Regions from separate parts of the Homo sapiens genome. Here regions 1, 2 and 4 are each linked to region 3. The links are contacts of gene promoters, found by promoter capture Hi-C in blood cells and fetal thymus (Javierre and others, 2016). All regions are on one chromosome and are shown on one strand. Each heading gives the region's core, a stretch centred on a gene start or on the middle of the fragment in contact. The rest is flanking DNA. Distances are from core to core; before and after follow the strand shown.

Region 1 (4,514 bases), core at 1,224-3,723, 100 kb after region 3:
TACAAGATGACGCAACCATGCTTGAGTCACAAACAAAAGAATCGACATTCTATAAAGAAGAAATACACTGTTGAATCTATCAGGCATTCATTTTAATGGTAAAACAATTGCATTGCATCCATCTAATCTTGTAATTAAGATTCAAATAGGTGCAAAATGATTACTTTGTACTGGCCTATCAAAATAGAAGACATTGTAGTTATAAGCTTTCTGACTAGCAGTAGTGTTTTAATTATAAATGCCTGGCTCATTATTTGCTCAAGAGCGAATGACAATTAGCTTGATCCTATTGCAACTGTTAATGCTGTTGGTACTAAAAAAAATAGGCAATATTGAATCAGGTTTCTGATATTTCCCTTCAGTTTACAATCTTCTGATTGATACTATATTCAAAATGTACTTAGTCATTTAAAGTCACAGGCAAGAAGGAAAATGGCTCCCAACAGCCAAAAAAAAAAAAAAAAAAGGTGTTGCAGGAAGGGTATTTCATGGCAAGCCTGGAGAACAAAATCAGTATGAGATGAATCACGTTCCAAAATAATTGAACCAGAGAAAGACTCCAAGCAAAATATTTTAGTTGGCCACAAAACAACATGACAACAACCACCACCACCCTTCAGCCCATTAGAGAGGTTCAATTCTACGATAGTGCTATGGAATAGAATATTAGTTAAACTGCTAGAATAAAGCAGCCATTTACACAGATGGTTTTGAATCTCAATGTTCTTCACATTGAAGCAAACCTCGGGGAGGTTTCAGGTTTAGCACCATCTTCCTAACACACCTATAGAGATATTTCCACAAAGGTTCAGGGTGCACTTGTCATTGGAGGGGTAGGCTTGGATGTGGGTCCTTTTCTACCGACAGCACTGAGGTTACCAACGGAGGGATCAGGGAAGGCAAGAGTACAAGCATTTTCTGATTCTCAGAATTTCTGAAATACCTTTTGTTTCAGTGGCGCTGGTGAACTTGTGATAATGAAACTACACCTCTGTACACAAACCTTGACCTGCATTCTGGAGCATACTGCAAAGAAAACCTTAATTTTGAAAGTACTGAGCACAAAGGAGGGAGAGAAAAGCTGTCACTGTGCAAGCTTTCTCTATATGTTTAGAAACATGGCTTAATTTTTAAGGCTTGAAGACCGCATTAAAAACCATCTAAAACCAGTTCAGATTCTATATGAGAGGAAAAAGAACTGTAAATTTTTCATTAAACATTTGTTTCCTTTTTAAAGACATTCTTTTGCATATCTGTTATTACATGTTTAAATACGATTTGGTTACCAAGGAAACAGGTTCTGGCCCAGTGTTAAATTTGAAACTAAAATATATTTGAGAAGTTAAGTTCAAAAGAAAGAGCTCATGAAATTATTTTGAAAAGTGCCAGAACCACAGCTATATGGTCTGCAATGAACCATTCTAGGGGCTCGGTTTCATTTAGTGAAGCTCTATTTCTTTTAAGAGGGCCATCTATATTTAATATTTCCCTCTTTAAAAATTGTAACTCCTCATCCCCCCAAATTATATACATAATATAATGTATTCTTGTATATTACCTAAAATTAATTTTGGAAGCATATCAGTTTTTATTTTCATCTTTCATAAACACGTTTAAAGACCGCTTCTTAAAATTTAAATATTTTTAATGTTTCTTATTAAGCTTGTTTACGCTCTTTGAAATCATCTCCAGAAACCCATTTATTTTTAGTTTCAAGCTGAAATGGAGCTGAATCATCACTCTTTTCAAAAAATTCTTTTGTTGTCTAATGGCACCACACCTATCATATATATGATTTTTTTTTAAAAAAAATCTCCCTTTTATGGCAGAATCATTTACTAAGTTTGTAAAAGCTATACATTTATATACTATCTGAATAGCAGAGGCTGTCCAATTAAAAACCCTCCCCCAAAAGATTACAGCTGTCTTATTTAATTTTTGTTTTTTTAAAAGTCATATTCTAATGCATCTAATGTTCTTGCTGCATGGCTCAAAAAAAACTATAAAAACATGCAAATTTCAACCTACCTGTATGCATCACTTAATGCAGTGCTAGCATGACAAGACACTCAGCCATTTTTATGTAAAGCGATGGAGACCAACTGATTTCTCTGTCTTCTTGCTCACAAGTTTTAGATGCAATTGTCACATACACACAAAAATCATACGCAGAACAGCTTGAATGAACTGTGATCACAGAACTGAATTTATCAACAGGAAAACAGGATTGAAAAAAGAAGTTTCTCATCCAAGGTTTTTCTGAGACTGCAACCAAGGAGGTGGTGTGTTGAATTTTTTTCCCCTTCCTCCTCTGAGAGTTCAAAGCTCGGAGCTGACCACTGCAAAGGCCACTGTCACATTTGCTGAAAATCAAACCACTGATACCAGCATTGAAAATACAAATTTGAGAACCCAAGTTGCTTGCACATGATGGAGTGCATAAGAGTTAAAAATAGAATCCACCTTGCCTCCTACCTGCATAATAAACATGTAAGTTTCAAGTGTTTAATTTGATATTCACATTAATTAACAATACAACATACATTATTTAAAAGACAGCAAATGCACGAAGAAAGGAGAGACACCATCTGGTAGCAGAGTTTTGTTGTTGTTGTTTTTGTTTTTAGGGTTTGTGGGGGGTTTTGGTTTTGTTAAAAAAAAAAAGGTAAAATCATATTTTGAATGTGATGAAAAACAAACATCCAGAAGCAAATGAATTGGAAATGAAAGGTGATGTTGAAATATCTAAGGCTGTAATGAGGCAAAAACAAGTCTTCGCTACCAGATGATATGGCATACAGAGCATTTACATACTCACATCTGAAATACTAGGCAACGTGTAATGAATTCTAGACACAGCATGCACACACAGCACAAGCACGGCTAATCCTGCCTGCCATCTTAGGCTCGCAGAAGCAAGATACGCACTGCATGCAGCACACGAGCACTGGGGAAGGAGGAGGCAAGGGACAGCTCACCTTAAATGCAGTATCTGATTAATGTTGTAAGTGACATTGCATATCAGCCTCAGAGTCTTGGTTCAACTGGGTAGGAGGGAACAAAGAAAAATGTCATCAACTGGTGATGCAAGATGAGCCCAATCACTAAACACTGTTTAGTAAACTCCAAATTCTGCAACCAGACAGAAGGCATTTCATACACTTAAGCAGAGCTGCTCCACAATGAATGTGTCCTTCTGCTTCTGAGAATCAAACAATCCTTTTGCTAAGGAAGAAAATAAGCTGGAAAGAACACTCTCATATTCTCTTCCTGAAGAAAGCTTTCAATACAGTATGTATCTGGTCCGGGATGCATTTTATAGATGTTAATTTTATAGAATTGCTAAGAAAAAACCAAAACTGTTAAGCTCTTGCAAAGTAAAAAATAATTTTGATAAAGGGTATAGCATTTCTAGATTATTTTTCAAAATCCTAAATGGTGCCGGCAGGCTTGTAGAAAAATGCATGATCAGCTGTCTGTATCCGTGCTATAACCTTTAACCACAAGCAGTGTAAATGTATCCTGCTAAATGTATCTGCAGTACAGAGCGGCAGATACCGCCTCAGAATTTTATTAAAATGTGAATGGATTTTTTAAAACTTGGAAGCAGAATAAAATCAGAACAGAAAAATAAATTGATGCTGAATTCCTCTGGCTGTATAGCTGACCATCATGAACGATTAAAGCTATCCTTAGGATACTGACCTAAATAATACTAAGACTTACAGCAGCATACTGTATGCGTTCAGAACACAGAAAATGCAAAATGATTTATCTTCTCCCTCCCCCTCCAAAAGCTAAATTTTAAAGTAACAAGCCATTAATAGGAATACCAAAAGGCTATAGATAGTACATACTGTAAGAGAAGAAATCGTGTTGTGCTGAGATGCAATGTTTCTTTGTTTTACTTTGAGGCTTATTTTAGCTATGCTTGCATGATGACATTGACATCAGGAGGTCAGTGCTGACACTGGGTTGATATCCGTTTTATGAGTGAAATGTTTTCCGAAAATTAAATCTCATCTACTCAAACACCAAATTTCATGTCATCTTCAAAACCACCTCCCTACCCCCACTGCTCAAGATTGATGGGATCTAGTTTGGTGGTATGTAATAAATTGGAATCACCTTCTGCAGATAGTTCAATATGTAATGGTGAGGAATTAATTTTTTAAATAAAAAACATTCAAGAATTCTTATGCACCCCCTTTCATTCCTTCCTATCAACACACGCGCACACACACACACACACACACACACACACACTCAAAGCTCGAATTGCAATGAAATGTTTAACATGTGGAACAAAAACTGTTGAAAGAGCTGCTTATTCAGGATTTTTAAGAAATGCCTAATAAGCAAATACGGTTTTGCTGCAAAACCAGTGTCACCAGGTCCCCAAAGAGGAAAACAGCATAGCTTGCTAGCAAAATTTCCTCCAGATCCTGCCGGCAGGTAAAAAAACAAAAAAGCATTTTATTTGCCATGCTGTATAAAACAAGAAGTCTTTTATT
Region 2 (4,427 bases), core at 1,538-4,037, 120 kb after region 3:
TCCCTGGTCTCTACGTGAAGTGGAGCATCCTCCTCCTTTGCTACAACAAATGCAGTTAAATGCTGGTAATTAAAACCAAACCTTTATGAATGCAAGGAATTCCTTGGAAGACTTGTCTATACTTGTTGACTTAGATTTCTCTCATTTTATTCCCTCTCTTTAAAAAAAATTATTAAGGTATAATTTACATATCAGAAAGTTCACTCACTTAAAGTGTACAATTCAATGGGTTTTAGTGTATTTACAGAATTATGTAATTTGTAATCTATTTTTTTTTAACACTTTTTGTCACCACCCCAAAAAACACCATGCTTATTAGGTATCATTCTTCATTTGTCCCCACCTACCAGCCCTAGATGACCACTCATCTAGTTTCTGTCTCTATAGATTTTCCTCTTCTGGACATTTTCTACAAATGGAATCATACAATATATGGTTCAAATATTTGTCCTCTCCAAAACTCATGTTGAAATTTAATCTCCAATATGGCAGTACTGAGAGGTGGGGTCTTTCAGAGGTGGTTAATCCACTCATGGATTAATGGATTAATTGGTTAATGGATTAATGGGTTATCACAAGAGAGAGACTTGTGGCTTTATAAGAAGAGGAAGAGGGACCTGAGCTAGCACTCTCAGCCACCTTGCCATGTAATGTCCTGTGTCACCTTGGGACTTGGCAGAGAGTCCGCACCAGCAAGAAGGTCCTCACCAGATGTGATCCCTAGACTTTGGACTTCTCAGCCTTCATAACTGTAAGAAGTGAATTTCTTTTCTTTATAAATTACCCAGGTTCAAGTGTTCTGTTTAAGCAACAGCAAATGAACTAAGGCATAGAATACTTTAGTACTTCTTTCCTTTTTATGCCCAAATAATATTCCACTGTGTGGGTATACAACATTTTGTTTATCCAAATCTCAGTTGATGAACACTTGAGTTGTTTTCACTTTTTGGCTGTTATGAATAATGTTGCTATGAACATTCATGTGCAAGTTTTTTTTTTGTGGACATGCATTCATGTCTCTTGGGTAGACACAAAAGAGTGGGATTGCTGAGTGATATCGTACTATGTTTAACATTTTGAGAAACTATCAAACTGTTTTCCAAAGTGCTGCATCATTTTACATTCTCACTAGCAATTTATGAGGGTTCTGATTTCCCCACATCCTCACCAATGCTGTTATTGCCTGTCTTTTTTATTATAGCCATCCTAGTGGGTACAATGTGATATCTCATTGTGATTTTGAACTGCATTTAACAAATGACTAATGATGTTGAGTGTGTTTTCAGGAGCTTATTGGTCACTTGTATATCTTCTTTGGAGAACTGTCTATTCAAATCCTTTATCTTTCAAATTGGGCTTTTTTTTTTTTTTTTTTTTTTTTTTTTTTTTTTAGATGTAGTTTCCCTCTTATTGCCTCAGCTGGAGTGCAATGGCACAATCTCAGCTCACCACAACTTCCACCTCCCGGGTTCAAGCGATTCTCCTGCCTCAGCCTCCCGAGTAGCTGGGATTACAGGCATGTGCCACCACACCTGGCTTATTTTGTATTTTTAGTAGAGATGGAGTTTCTCTATGTTGGTCAGGCTGGTCTTGAACTCCCGACCTCAGGTGATCTCCCTGCCTCAGCCTCCCAAAGTGCTGGGATTACAGGTGTGAGCCACCTGGACTAAAATTTTTTTTTTAAAGTTTTCAGTTTTAGGGATTCTTTATATATCCCAGACACAAGTCCCTTATCAGATATATTTTACAATATTATCTCCCTGTCTATGGTTGTCATTTCATTTCTGGTTGGTGTTATTTGAAGCATAAAAATTTTTAATTTTGATGAAGTCCAACTGGTCTTGAACTCCCGACCTCAGGTGATCTGCCTGCCTCAGCCTCCCAAAGTGCTGGGATTACAGGCGTGAGCCACCACACTCGGCCTAATTTTTTTTTTTAAATTTTTGAGTTTTAGGGATTCTTTATATACCCCAGACAAAAGTCCCTTACCAGATATATATTTTACAATATTATCTCCCTGTCTATGGTTGTCATTTCTTTTCTGGTTGGTGTTATTTGAAGCATAAAAGTTTTTAATTTTGATAAAGTCCAACTTATCAATCTTCTCTTTCATCACTTGTACTTTTGGCATCATATTTGAGAAAACATTATCTAACCCAAGGTCATGAAGATTTACACCTGAGTTTTCTTCTGAGAGTTTTATAGTTTTAGTTCTTACATTTAGATCTATGATACACTTTAAGTTAATTTTGCCTATGGTGTGAGGTAGGGATCCACATTCATTCTTTTCATGTGGCTATCTGGTTGTCCCATAACTATTTGTTGAAAAGATTATTCTTACAATAATTCTGTACATATAAAACTATTCTAAAATAAAGAGTTTATTTAAAAAACTATTCTAAAATAAAGAGTTTATTTATTTTTCCCTCTATTGAATTGTCTTGGCCCCTTTGTCAAAAATCAACTGACCATAAATATTAATATTTATTCTTGGACTCTTAATTCTATTCCATTGATTTAGATATCTATTGTCATGTCAGTACCACACTGTTTTGATTACTATAGCTTCATATTATGTTTGGAAATTAGGAAGTGTGAGTCCACCAACTTTGTTCTCTTTCAAAATCGTTTGGCTATTCTGGATCCCTTGCATTGCCATATGATTTTTAGGATCAGCTTCTCAATTTCTGCAAAAAATACAGCTGGGGTTTTGATAGATGTTAAATGGTACCTGCAGATCAATTTTGGGAGTAATCCCATATTAGCAATATTCAGTCATCTGATTCATAAACCTAGGAAACCTTCTCATTTATTTAGATCTTTGATTTATTTCAGCAATGTTTTGTTGTTTTCAGTGTACAAGTCTTGCAATTCTTTTGTTAAATTTATTCTCGAGTATTTTATTAACTGGTATTGTTTATACTGGGAATCATCTATGCTCACGGACTTAAGAGCTTGTGCTTTCATGATCAAAAGTCTTAAGTCCCAGTCCTGGTTTCACTATTTATTAGCTGCATGTAATGTAAGGTTACTTAGACTGTATCAAGTTCTTTTTCTTCATCTGAGAAAAAGGAAATACTAATACCACCTCATGGGTTTGTTATGCAGATTAAATAAGATAATGCATATGTAACCCTATTCAGACCATGACCTACAGGGTGCAGTCTTGGGGTGGGGGGCAGGGTTGCAGCCCAAGAAACCCAGTCTAGTCACCAAAAGTAATTTCTAATTAACTCATATTAATACTTGCATTTCTCAAACATCACAAAGAGCCCCTTCAATTCCCCTCAGCATCCTTTTCCCCTCCTATCCAAGCCTCTTACACCCCATAGCTTCTGCCTCCCTTTCTTTCTCCCAAACTCCCTGAAATCTTTTCTCCAGTCCTAATCAGCCTTCCTCTGGTCCTTCCGCTCTGTCCAGTTCTTCTTCTGTTGGGGCAGAAAAAGAAATTGGACAAACAAAGCCAGAACTCTTGTTAGTGGGCAGGAAGAGAAGAAAATCAGGGAACACTTAAACTTAATTTATGTCCTATCACTCATGTAAAGTGCTTAGTGCAATGTCTGATATATAATAATGGCTCAATAAATGTTGGATTAAAAATGTTTTTTGTGCTGGTGGTCATTTTATGCTATCTATATTTTATGTTATCTATTTTATGTTAATGATGTGGGGGGTTTAGATCATAACCTCTGAGAATCCAGTCTAGAGGTTGCTACCCAATGGCCCATCCTCACTCATTTGGGTGAATTTTGGGAATTCAAATTTGGAATTATTGTTCTCTTTTCTTCCTCCTGAATCACGCCTCAGAGAATCAGCCCTTGGAAAACTATAAAACTTGTAAAAAGTTCATCTTTAGGGATCCTTGAATACTGTTCGGAGGACACATCTGTTTCCTCCCTAGACCAGCTCCAGGACCCTAAACTCTTTCCCCTCCACAAAACCTTCTAGTATAATACCTTCAAGTGCAGGTCAGGACTCATTATTTAGTGGGTCAGCATGGGTTGCAAGTGATAGAATAAAATAAAACAATAGAAAAGATCCAAGTACATTATAACTAACACTTTCGTTTCGATTTTATAATATGTATGTGAGCTGGGTCTCTCTGTGAAACATATTTTCTATTGTGGTTCAGGGTTTTAAAAAAATGTTTAAAAACCAGTGTTGTAGATCCCTCACTTTCGCTGAGGTGTATAAACAACTCATCAGAGCATAAAGTAAACTCCTCTTAGTGATCTGTCCACTTTTATAGGGATGGAGACCTTAAGTCCTAGGGATGAAGCTCCATCAGTAGTGAAGTATTTGGGGGCACTGAGGCTCTTTCCTGTAATTTACAACACTTGGAGAAGGAGTAACTTCTGTTTGCTGTCTGGACCTACCCTGCTCCCTCATGCTACCCCATAGCCATCCCCTTCTCTCATTCCCACAAT
Region 3 (3,993 bases), core at 1-2,500:
AAGAAAATAATGCTAATTTTCGACAAATGCAAAAATAAATGTTATTGATCTCTCTTACAAACAGAAAACAAAAAGCACTTCATCTAAATAAACCACTGTGAAAAAAAAAATGGCAACCTGACACCAAAGGGTCGTTTTTAAAACTAAAATGTTCAAATGACAGAACTCAAATAATCTGTCCACAGTAATGCTCGGACAACTCTGAGCAAAATTTCGTATTTAGTCAACTGGTAGGCTCGCTCACTAAAGTAGCAATTACACGCATGAGAAGGAAGGGAATTAAGCGGGCTGAGTGCGGGCTGGGTGATTGTGTTTTGAGACCTGCTCACAGGAAGCCACTACATCCTGCCTTTAGTCCCGCCTGTCACGCCGTCCCTCGATTCAAGTCCCGGCCGCAGCGAGGTGGGGCAAGTACAGGTGTCCCGCCGAGCTCCTCCCGGGGCGCTCACCCGCGAACAGACCGCGCGGTAGCCACTCGGGCCCCAGGGCGGCCCGTTTCCTGCAGCTCAGGGCGCCTTTTTCAACCTCTCCCAGGCTCGCCGAGCCCAGGAAACGAACAGCCCCCTCCCCTCGGGCCAGCCCCACTTCCCAGCCCGCCACCTCCTCGGGCCGCGCCTCCGTATAATTACTGCTCGGCTCCCACCGCGGGGCCACTCCCCAGCGCCCGCAGCCGCGCGAAGGCCTGAGTCTGAGGGCGGCCGGAAGCTCCTCACGCCCCCGGACCGCGCCCCCGGCCGCGCCCCGGACTCCAGCGTCCCCGCGTCCAGGCCGCTCCCCACGACCGAGCCCCTCACGCCGGCGCAGCCCGGGCTCTCCCACCCCAGGCCCATCTCCAGCTCCCACTCCCTCCGGAGAGCAGCAGCCCCGGCCCACGCCGCCCCGTCGAGGCGACGCCGCCCCCCAACACACCCCCTTCCAGCCTCAACCGCGCCCGGCCCAGGCCCCCTCCCGGGCCCGCGATCCCAGCGCAGCTCGGCGCCGCCACCGCCGCGAACCCGCCGCCCCCTCAGCCTCGCGCCCAGCGCCGCCAGGGCGTCCCCTCAGCCCAGCCCCCGCTTACAGATCTTGCCCCGCAGGCTCTGCAACACTCGAACCTCGCGACTGTCCTGGTCCCCGGCCTCGGGCTCTGCAGTCGCACTCGCCGCTGGCGCCTCGGAAGAAGCCGCCGCAGCAGCAGGCGCCGCCGCCGCCATGGTGCCGCCCGGCCCGTGCCGCAGCCCTGCCGCCTGCGTAGCCGGGCGAGGCGGAGCCCAGCAGCGGCCTAGGCCCAGGCCAGCCGCGCGCCTGGCCCCGCCCCCGGGCCTCGGCCCGACTCGCCCCGCCCCGCCCCGCCCGCCGCGGCCCCGCCCCCGCCCCCCCCGGGTCTCCATTCACCGCCTTCGCCACCCCCGAGCCGGGCTACCCTGCAGAGAACCGTACTCCCGGCTTGGGGCGCTGGCTAAGGGTAGCTCCCAGTCGTGGCTCTGAGCGGCCTTAAAATCCCCACCAGGAGAACGCCCCGGCCCTCCCGTGATCCCTAAATCCTCCCGGGAATTGGGCTCCCCCAATGAATAGACCTGCACATCTCCTAACGCTCGCGGGAAATACAGGCCCTTCCCAATCAGGGAAACTCCCTGTGGGAAGAAAATAGAATGGAATTTGGCAGGTGGGTGGACCTCAAAAGTATCTTATTCAAAAGGAGGCAAGAGATGCATTTGAGGCTCTTCCAGTATTATCCAAATACTCCCCGCCAGCAAGCCAAACTCCTCCCACACAAATACTCTTTACTAGGACCAATTCTCTGCAAAACCTGGTTCAAGAAAAGGACCAGCCACCCCCAACTCCAGCGTGAGTGCAGTGCCTGAGACCCTCTCATAGAGAAATTCTGAAGCATTTACCATCACTTTTGTATTTCAGGAACAGAAAAAGCAAAGAAGGGCTCCCCCCCGCCACCGCCACCACTACTAAAAGTTGGCTTTGTTAAAAAGTTGACTGACCCTAGGAAATGTGTAAATCTTTGACTAATTGTTAGCTTTATTTCAAGGGAACTCTTTACAGTGAGTAAACTGCATGAATAATACCCTGGTATGTGATGAGGAAGACAATTTCCTGGTGTTGAGGTTGTTAACTACGCTGCCCTAAGAAGGAAGAAACTGTGACTTAATCGGGCAGGGTAATTCTTTTCCAGGGCAACAACAGGAATAAGCCAGTCAGTCAACAAATATTTTTTGAGGGTCAGACATAGTGATGGCCTCAGACCTCAGAGACTACACAAAGGTCAAGATGAAGAGAGCTCCAGCTCATTCTGGAGGGAGACACAGAAAAGGCCAGAGGCACTGGGAGATAAGAAATAGGACGGGGAAACCTGAAAACTGAAGACAAACGCGCCGCCTGTGCAAAGGCTGGACAGCCCCAGAGAATGGTCAGAGTTTAACATGGACCTGGCCAGCGAAGCTTCCAGTTCTGCCTGTGTTGCAGGTGACTTCTATTTCCCCATGTGATCTTTACACTTGTTGGATAAAGTGAACCACTTCCTCTTATATGAATGTTTTGCTGTCATTTCAAACATAAGTCCAAAACTTAATTTCCTGTCTCCCTTTCCAAATCTGAGTTCACATCTTATACTGTTACTCAGGCCAGAAACTTTGACTTTTTCTTATCCCTTGTCCCAATGCTGTTTTCAGTTGCCACATCCTTCTGACTCTGCTGAAATCTCTTCCTTCCTTTCCATTCTCTGTCATTGCCCTTGTTAAAATTATTCTCATTTAAAGAGTATCAACGTGTTACAGGGTTTTTTCCCCCTTATTTTTAAAGGCATCCCTTTTTAGAATCAGACATAGAGCCTGTTTCTACCCCTTTTACATTTGGGCAAGTTACTCAACCTTCCTAAACCTGTTTCTGTTTCTTCTCTTTCTTTCTTTCTTTTTTTTTTTGACAGTCTTGCTCTGTTGCCTAGGCTGGAGTGCAGTGGCACGATCTCAGCTCACTGCAGCTTCAACTTCCTGGGCTCAAGCTATCCTCCCATGTCAGCCTCCTAAGTAGCTGGGACTACAGGTGCGCGCCACCATGTCCAGTTAATTTTTGTATTTTTGGTAGAGATGGGGTTTTGCCATGTTGCCCAGGCTGGTCTTGAACTTCTGGGCTCAAGTGATCCATCCGCGTCAGCCTCCCAAAGTGCTGGGTGTAAGCCACTGCGCCCGGTTGAACCTGTTTCTTTAACAGTAAAGTGGAAATGCTAAACTTTCTTCTTTGAAGGGTTGTTATTAAGATTAAATAAGTATTGGGAGCAGGGTGTTAAGTGTCTAGTGGAATGCTGAGCACGTAGTAGGATTACCTCAGTAACTGACCTCATGCTTTTGACTGGAACTCTGGTAATAAGTCCCCCATCCCTCTCATTCCTCCTACATACCACTTAAATTAACTTTCCTAACAAAAAAAATGGAGCTTATCAGTTGCCTGCTCAAGAGGACATCAGTGGCTTCATTTATCCCTTCAGCCAGCTAGCAAGAGCACACTACAGGTAATGAACAATGCTAGAAATGACTAAAGTTCAAATTCTTCAGCCAAGAGTTGGAACTGGATCCAGCGTACCTGACTCCTCTGATCTCCAGCCACACTGAGCCCCTTTTCTCACCAGCCTGATTCTGGCCTTCCTCCTGCTTGGCCAAGCGATGCCTCATCCATCTATTTCTTTCTCCAATAAACAGAGAAATTATTTGAACCTTTGGACAAATGTATCCATGGATAAAGTATCAATGTACAAATGGACAAATGTATCCAATGGACAAACGTATCCAATGGACAAAGTATCAATATCTTTGTCCATTAGTGTCAAAATCTTCTAACTTCCCTTCCTTTTCACTAGCTTAACCCCAAGTGCATAACTCTGTTACTAAATGGTCACTAAAGGTATGAAAACAATTTTACATAAAGGGACACTCCACTTTTTTGTTCTTCCAGACAGTCTTCCTTTTGCAGATTTCGGACTTATACCGTTTCACTAAAATCCCCAAA
Region 4 (4,346 bases), core at 1,656-4,155, 120 kb before region 3:
CCCCAAGATAAAGTCAGAAATCTTCAAATAGAAAGTTATCCACCAAGTACTAAGCAGGATGGAAGAAAAAAGAAAACCTCCTAAATACTAGGCAGAAAAACATTAGAACTTGAAGGCTACAGAGAGTCCTAAGAGTTTTTAGATAGAAGAGTCAAAAGACTGAGAATCAGAGTGACATCAAAATCCTCATCAGCAGCAATGGAAGCTAGTAAACAATGGAGTATGTTTACTCCATTGAACTATCATTCAAGAGTAAGGGGAAAAGACATTTTTTTTTATTCCTGTTCAATTTATTTATTTATTTATTTAATATATGTATATTTTTGTTATACTTTAAGTTCTAGGGTACATGTGCACAATGTGCAGGTTTGTTACATATGTATACATGTGCCATGTTGGTGTGCTGCACCCATTAACTCGTCATTTACATTAGGTATATTTCCTAATGCCATCCCTCCCCCCTCCCCACACCCCAGGTAAAAGACATTTTTGTATATGTAAGGACTCAGAAAACTTATCAGCCATAAAGCCTATCTGAAAGAATTCCTTAAGTACTCCCACAAAATAATAATGAATCCAGGAAAAAGATGTGTTATACAAAAAATAGTGTTGGGCCAAAGAAATCAGTAAAATTGATAGGCAAGGATGCAAAATCATTAAAACATAATGTAAAAAGGTAAAAGAAACAAGAGAAACAAGTATTAAAATTCCAGATGACTTCTTTAGGGAGATGCTAGGAAAAGAATAATTGAAAGCATGATAATGTTCTTTCCCAGCTTGAATGGAGACTTGGATCAACTGTAGACATTAATATAAACATTTAAGTTTTAATTTGTTAACAATTTAAAAAGTAAAAATAGGATAGTCAAGTTTCCTCACTAGATAGAGACAGAAAGATAGAGTGCAAACACCCATATATGCTCAACTATTCCAATAAAAAGGAAGGGAAAAATAAACCCAAGAAACAGAAAAGACTAGTAAATAGAAAACACAAAACAAAGTAGTAGTAATGGTAATCACAATAAATGTGAGTGCATTAAATTTCCTACTAAATGGCTGAAATCAGGTTTTAAAGTTGTCATTACCTCCTAATTAAACAGAAATACCCTATTAACTCACTGATTACACTCCTACGTATATACCATGAGAGCTGAAGACACATCCACACAAAAACTTGTAAATGAATGTTCACAACTGCATTGTTCATAATAGCCAAAAACCAAAAACAACCTAAATGTCCATCAACTGGTGAATGAATAAACAAAATGTGGTATTATCTGTAAAAGAGAATATGATTCAGCCATGAAAATAAAGTACTGATTCATGCTACAACATGAATGAACCTCCAAAACATTATGCTGAGTGAAAGATGTTAGTCACAAAAGGCTACATATGATTCCATGTACATGAAATGTCTAGAATGGGCAAATCTATAGAGACAGAAAGTATATTAGTGGTTGTCAGAGGCTGGGAGAAGGGAGGAATGGGGAGTGACTGTTAATGGGTATAGGGTTTCTTTTTGGGTGGTGAAAATGCTTTGGAATTAGTGGCAATTGCGCAACACTATGAATATCTTGAAAACCAATCAACTGTATACCTTAAAAGGGTGAATTTTATGGTATGTGAATTATATCTAAATTTTATTTTTTATTTTTTTTTGAGACAGAGTTTTGCTCTCATCACCCAGGCTGGAGTACAATGGCATGATCTCGGCTCACTGCAATCTCCACCTCCTGGGATCAAACGATTCTCCTGCCTCAGCCTCCTGAGTAGCTGGGATTACAGGCGCCCACTACCACACTTGGCTAATTTTTGTATTTTCAGTAGAGATGGAGTTTCACCATGTTGGCCAGGCTGGTCTCGAACTCCTGACCTCAGGTGATCCACCCGCCTTGGCCTCCTAAAGTAGTGGGATTACGGGCCTGAACCACTGTGCCTGGCCTAAATTTAAAAAAATACAATTACCACCACAATAAAAATGAATGTCCAACTACATATTGGCCCCAAGGGACACAGCTAAAACAATGTTACCATGACTGTATTTTTGATAATAGTGTTAAGAAAGATGGGTGTATAAAACTGGGCAAATTGTTAAAAACAACTTCAGGGCACGGGAAAACAACCAACGGTGATAAGTTTACTCATGAAAAACCGCATAGGGTAAGAACTGTGGATTTATGGTCTTCCTACCTGGGGGTGTTTCCATTATCCCCAAGTTAGGCAATGAAAATACAAGTTTTACTGGCTGGAGGTTACAGATTCCATTTAAGGATGAAATCTGGAAGCAAGAGGGCTATGAAAGCCTGATAATAAACTTGCCAGATCCCTGCCTGACTGCTAACGTAGGCATGTATGTGGAATATCCCAGAGTCTGGCAAAAACTGAAAGCCTGGGGAGACGTCAATTTGCTGTGACTCTGAATGTATTCTCTAATCCACACACAGCTCAGATGACAGAGGGTGGAAGCCTTTGAGGTATTTGAGCTGCCTGCTCAATTCATTTGTTGACCACTAAACTAATCAAGTTCAGGTGAGGCCCCCTAGGGAGCTAGCTAGGGTTAGAGGGAAACATCTGAACAGAGAGATACACTGTAAGTAAGAGAGAGAGACTGCAGTTTTAGTCTAGGCAAGCATTCAGAACAAACCAAATGCAGACACACTACAGTGTACTATCTAAAAGAGGGGTCCCCAAAATCTGGACCATAGACTGGTACTGGTCAGTGGCCTGTTAGGAACTGGGCCACCCAGCAGGAGCAGCAGTGGGTGGGCAAGCAAGCATTACTACCTGAGTTCTGCCTCCTGTCAGATAAGGGTGGCATGAGATCACAAGAGTGCAAATCCTATTGTGAAACGAGCATGCAACAGATCTAGGTTGTGCACTCCTTATGAGAATCTAATGCCTGATGATCTGAGGTAAAACAATTTCATCCCAAATACATGACCCCCCACCAGTCCGTGGAAAAATTGTCTTCCATGAAACTGGTCCTTGGTGACAAAAAGGTTGGGGACTGCTGATCTTAAAAATGTCTAGCTTTTAATAAGAAAGTAAGACATATAAAAAAACAGGAAAGTGTGACACATAACTTGGGAAAGAAGGCAGCCAACTAAAACTGATTCTGAATGGGTCCAGATACTGAATTTAGCAGCCTAAGACTTCAAAGCAGTTACTCTAAATATGCTGAAATAATTCAATAAAAATATACTAATAGCAACTGAACATATATAGGCTCTCAACAGAAAAATCTAAAGTACAAAGAGAACTAAATGGAAATTCTGGAGCTGAAAAGTACAACAGATGAATGAAAAATTCACATGAGCTAAATCAGTGAACTTAAGTAAAAATGATCTGATTTGGAGACCAAAGAGAATAAAAGAAAAATGAACTGAGTCTCAGTGAGATCCATGAGACAATTTATCAGCATAAATTGGAGGATCCCTAGAAGAAAAAGGGGAGAAATTTGAAGAAATAAGTCAAAAAAGTCCCAAATTTGGTGAAAAACATTATCTTATGGTTCAAAAAATTCAACAAACCCCAACAAGCTCTTGAAAAATTTCAACCACCAAGTAATACATTTTATGGTCATCATATTAAAAAAAGAAAAAGGAATCACAATGAATAATGGAGAAAATACATCTTTCTTTTCAATGAAGTCCAATTCATTTAAGAAAAATGTTCAGTGCTTTTAATGTTCTCTTCAAGAAATCCTAGCATATCATGGTTTCGAAGATATTTTTCCACATTTTCTTTGAGGTCTATGATTCTATCATCTTTTTTTTTTCTTTTTTTTTGGAGACAGTGGAGACAGTCTCTCTCTGTTGCCCAGGCTGGAGCGCAGTGATGCCATCTCGGCTCACAGCAACTTCTGCCTCCCGAGTTCAAGCATTCAAGTGATTCTCGGACCTCAGCTTCCTGAGTAGCTGGGATTACAGCCGTGGGCCACCATGCACAGCTAATTTTTGTATTTTTAATACAAACGGGGTTTCACCATATTGCCCAGGCTGGTCTTGAACTCTTGAGATCAGGCAATCTGTCTGCCGCAGCCTCTCAAAGTGCTAGGGTACAGGTGTGAGCCACTGTGCCCGGCCCCATCATCTTAAATTAAATTTTGTGTTGTGTGAGGTGGGGTAAAGTTCATTTCCCCTCCATGTTTATCAGGGTCGTTCCTGCACCATATGTTAAAAAGCCTTTTCTTTCCCTACTGAATTGCCTTGACAGCTTTGTTAAAACGGAATTGGCCATATTTATGTGTGTGTTTCTTTCTGCTCTGTCCATTGATCTCTTTCTCTCTTATCCTAAACCTACAATCTTGATTACTGCAGCTTTACAGTAAGTCTTTAAATTAGCTC

The links. Contacts are between HindIII fragments. The CHiCAGO score rates a contact against its expected background, and 5 or more counts as called.
Region 1: a fragment that was not itself captured here is called in contact with the fragment with the promoter of RASA2 in region 3 in 1 of 17 cell types (total CD8 T cells); the score reaches 5.1 in total CD8 T cells.
Region 2: a fragment that was not itself captured here is called in contact with the fragment with the promoter of RASA2 in region 3 in 3 of 17 cell types (total CD8 T cells, activated CD4 T cells and naive CD8 T cells); the score reaches 6.2 in total CD8 T cells.
Region 4: a contact is called between a fragment that was not itself captured here and the fragment with the promoter of RASA2 in region 3, in 2 of 17 cell types (neutrophils and naive CD8 T cells). The highest score is 8.0, in neutrophils.

The regions. Positions count from the first base shown.
Region 1 is chr3:141,385,402-141,389,915 of GRCh38, reverse strand. It overlaps ZBTB38 (zinc finger and BTB domain containing 38), which reads right to left. Exons shown (of 6, transcript NM_001376113.1): 4 at 2,979-3,044. Among named protein-coding and RNA genes, the nearest start is that of ZBTB38, 19 kb to the right of the region's middle. RefSeq lists an enhancer at 2,131-2,360. The HindIII fragment of the contact is 1,618 bases long and covers 1,665-3,282 here.
Region 2 is chr3:141,361,641-141,366,067 of GRCh38, reverse strand. It overlaps a transcript of ZBTB38 not described here. Among named protein-coding and RNA genes, the nearest start is that of ZBTB38, 4.6 kb to the left of the region's middle. The HindIII fragment of the contact is 5,814 bases long and covers 1-4,427 here.
Region 3 is chr3:141,484,284-141,488,276 of GRCh38, reverse strand. RASA2 (RAS p21 protein activator 2) reads right to left here and starts at 1,250. Exons shown (of 24, transcript NM_006506.5): 1 at 1,061-1,250. The coding sequence starts at 1,193. RefSeq lists a silencer at 462-1,341. The HindIII fragment of the contact is 5,296 bases long and covers 1-2,435 here.
Region 4 is chr3:141,600,885-141,605,230 of GRCh38, reverse strand. The region is part of intron 19 of RASA2 (RAS p21 protein activator 2); the gene reads right to left. Among named protein-coding and RNA genes, the nearest start is that of RASA2-IT1, 78 kb to the right of the region's middle. The HindIII fragment of the contact is 9,060 bases long and covers 1-4,346 here.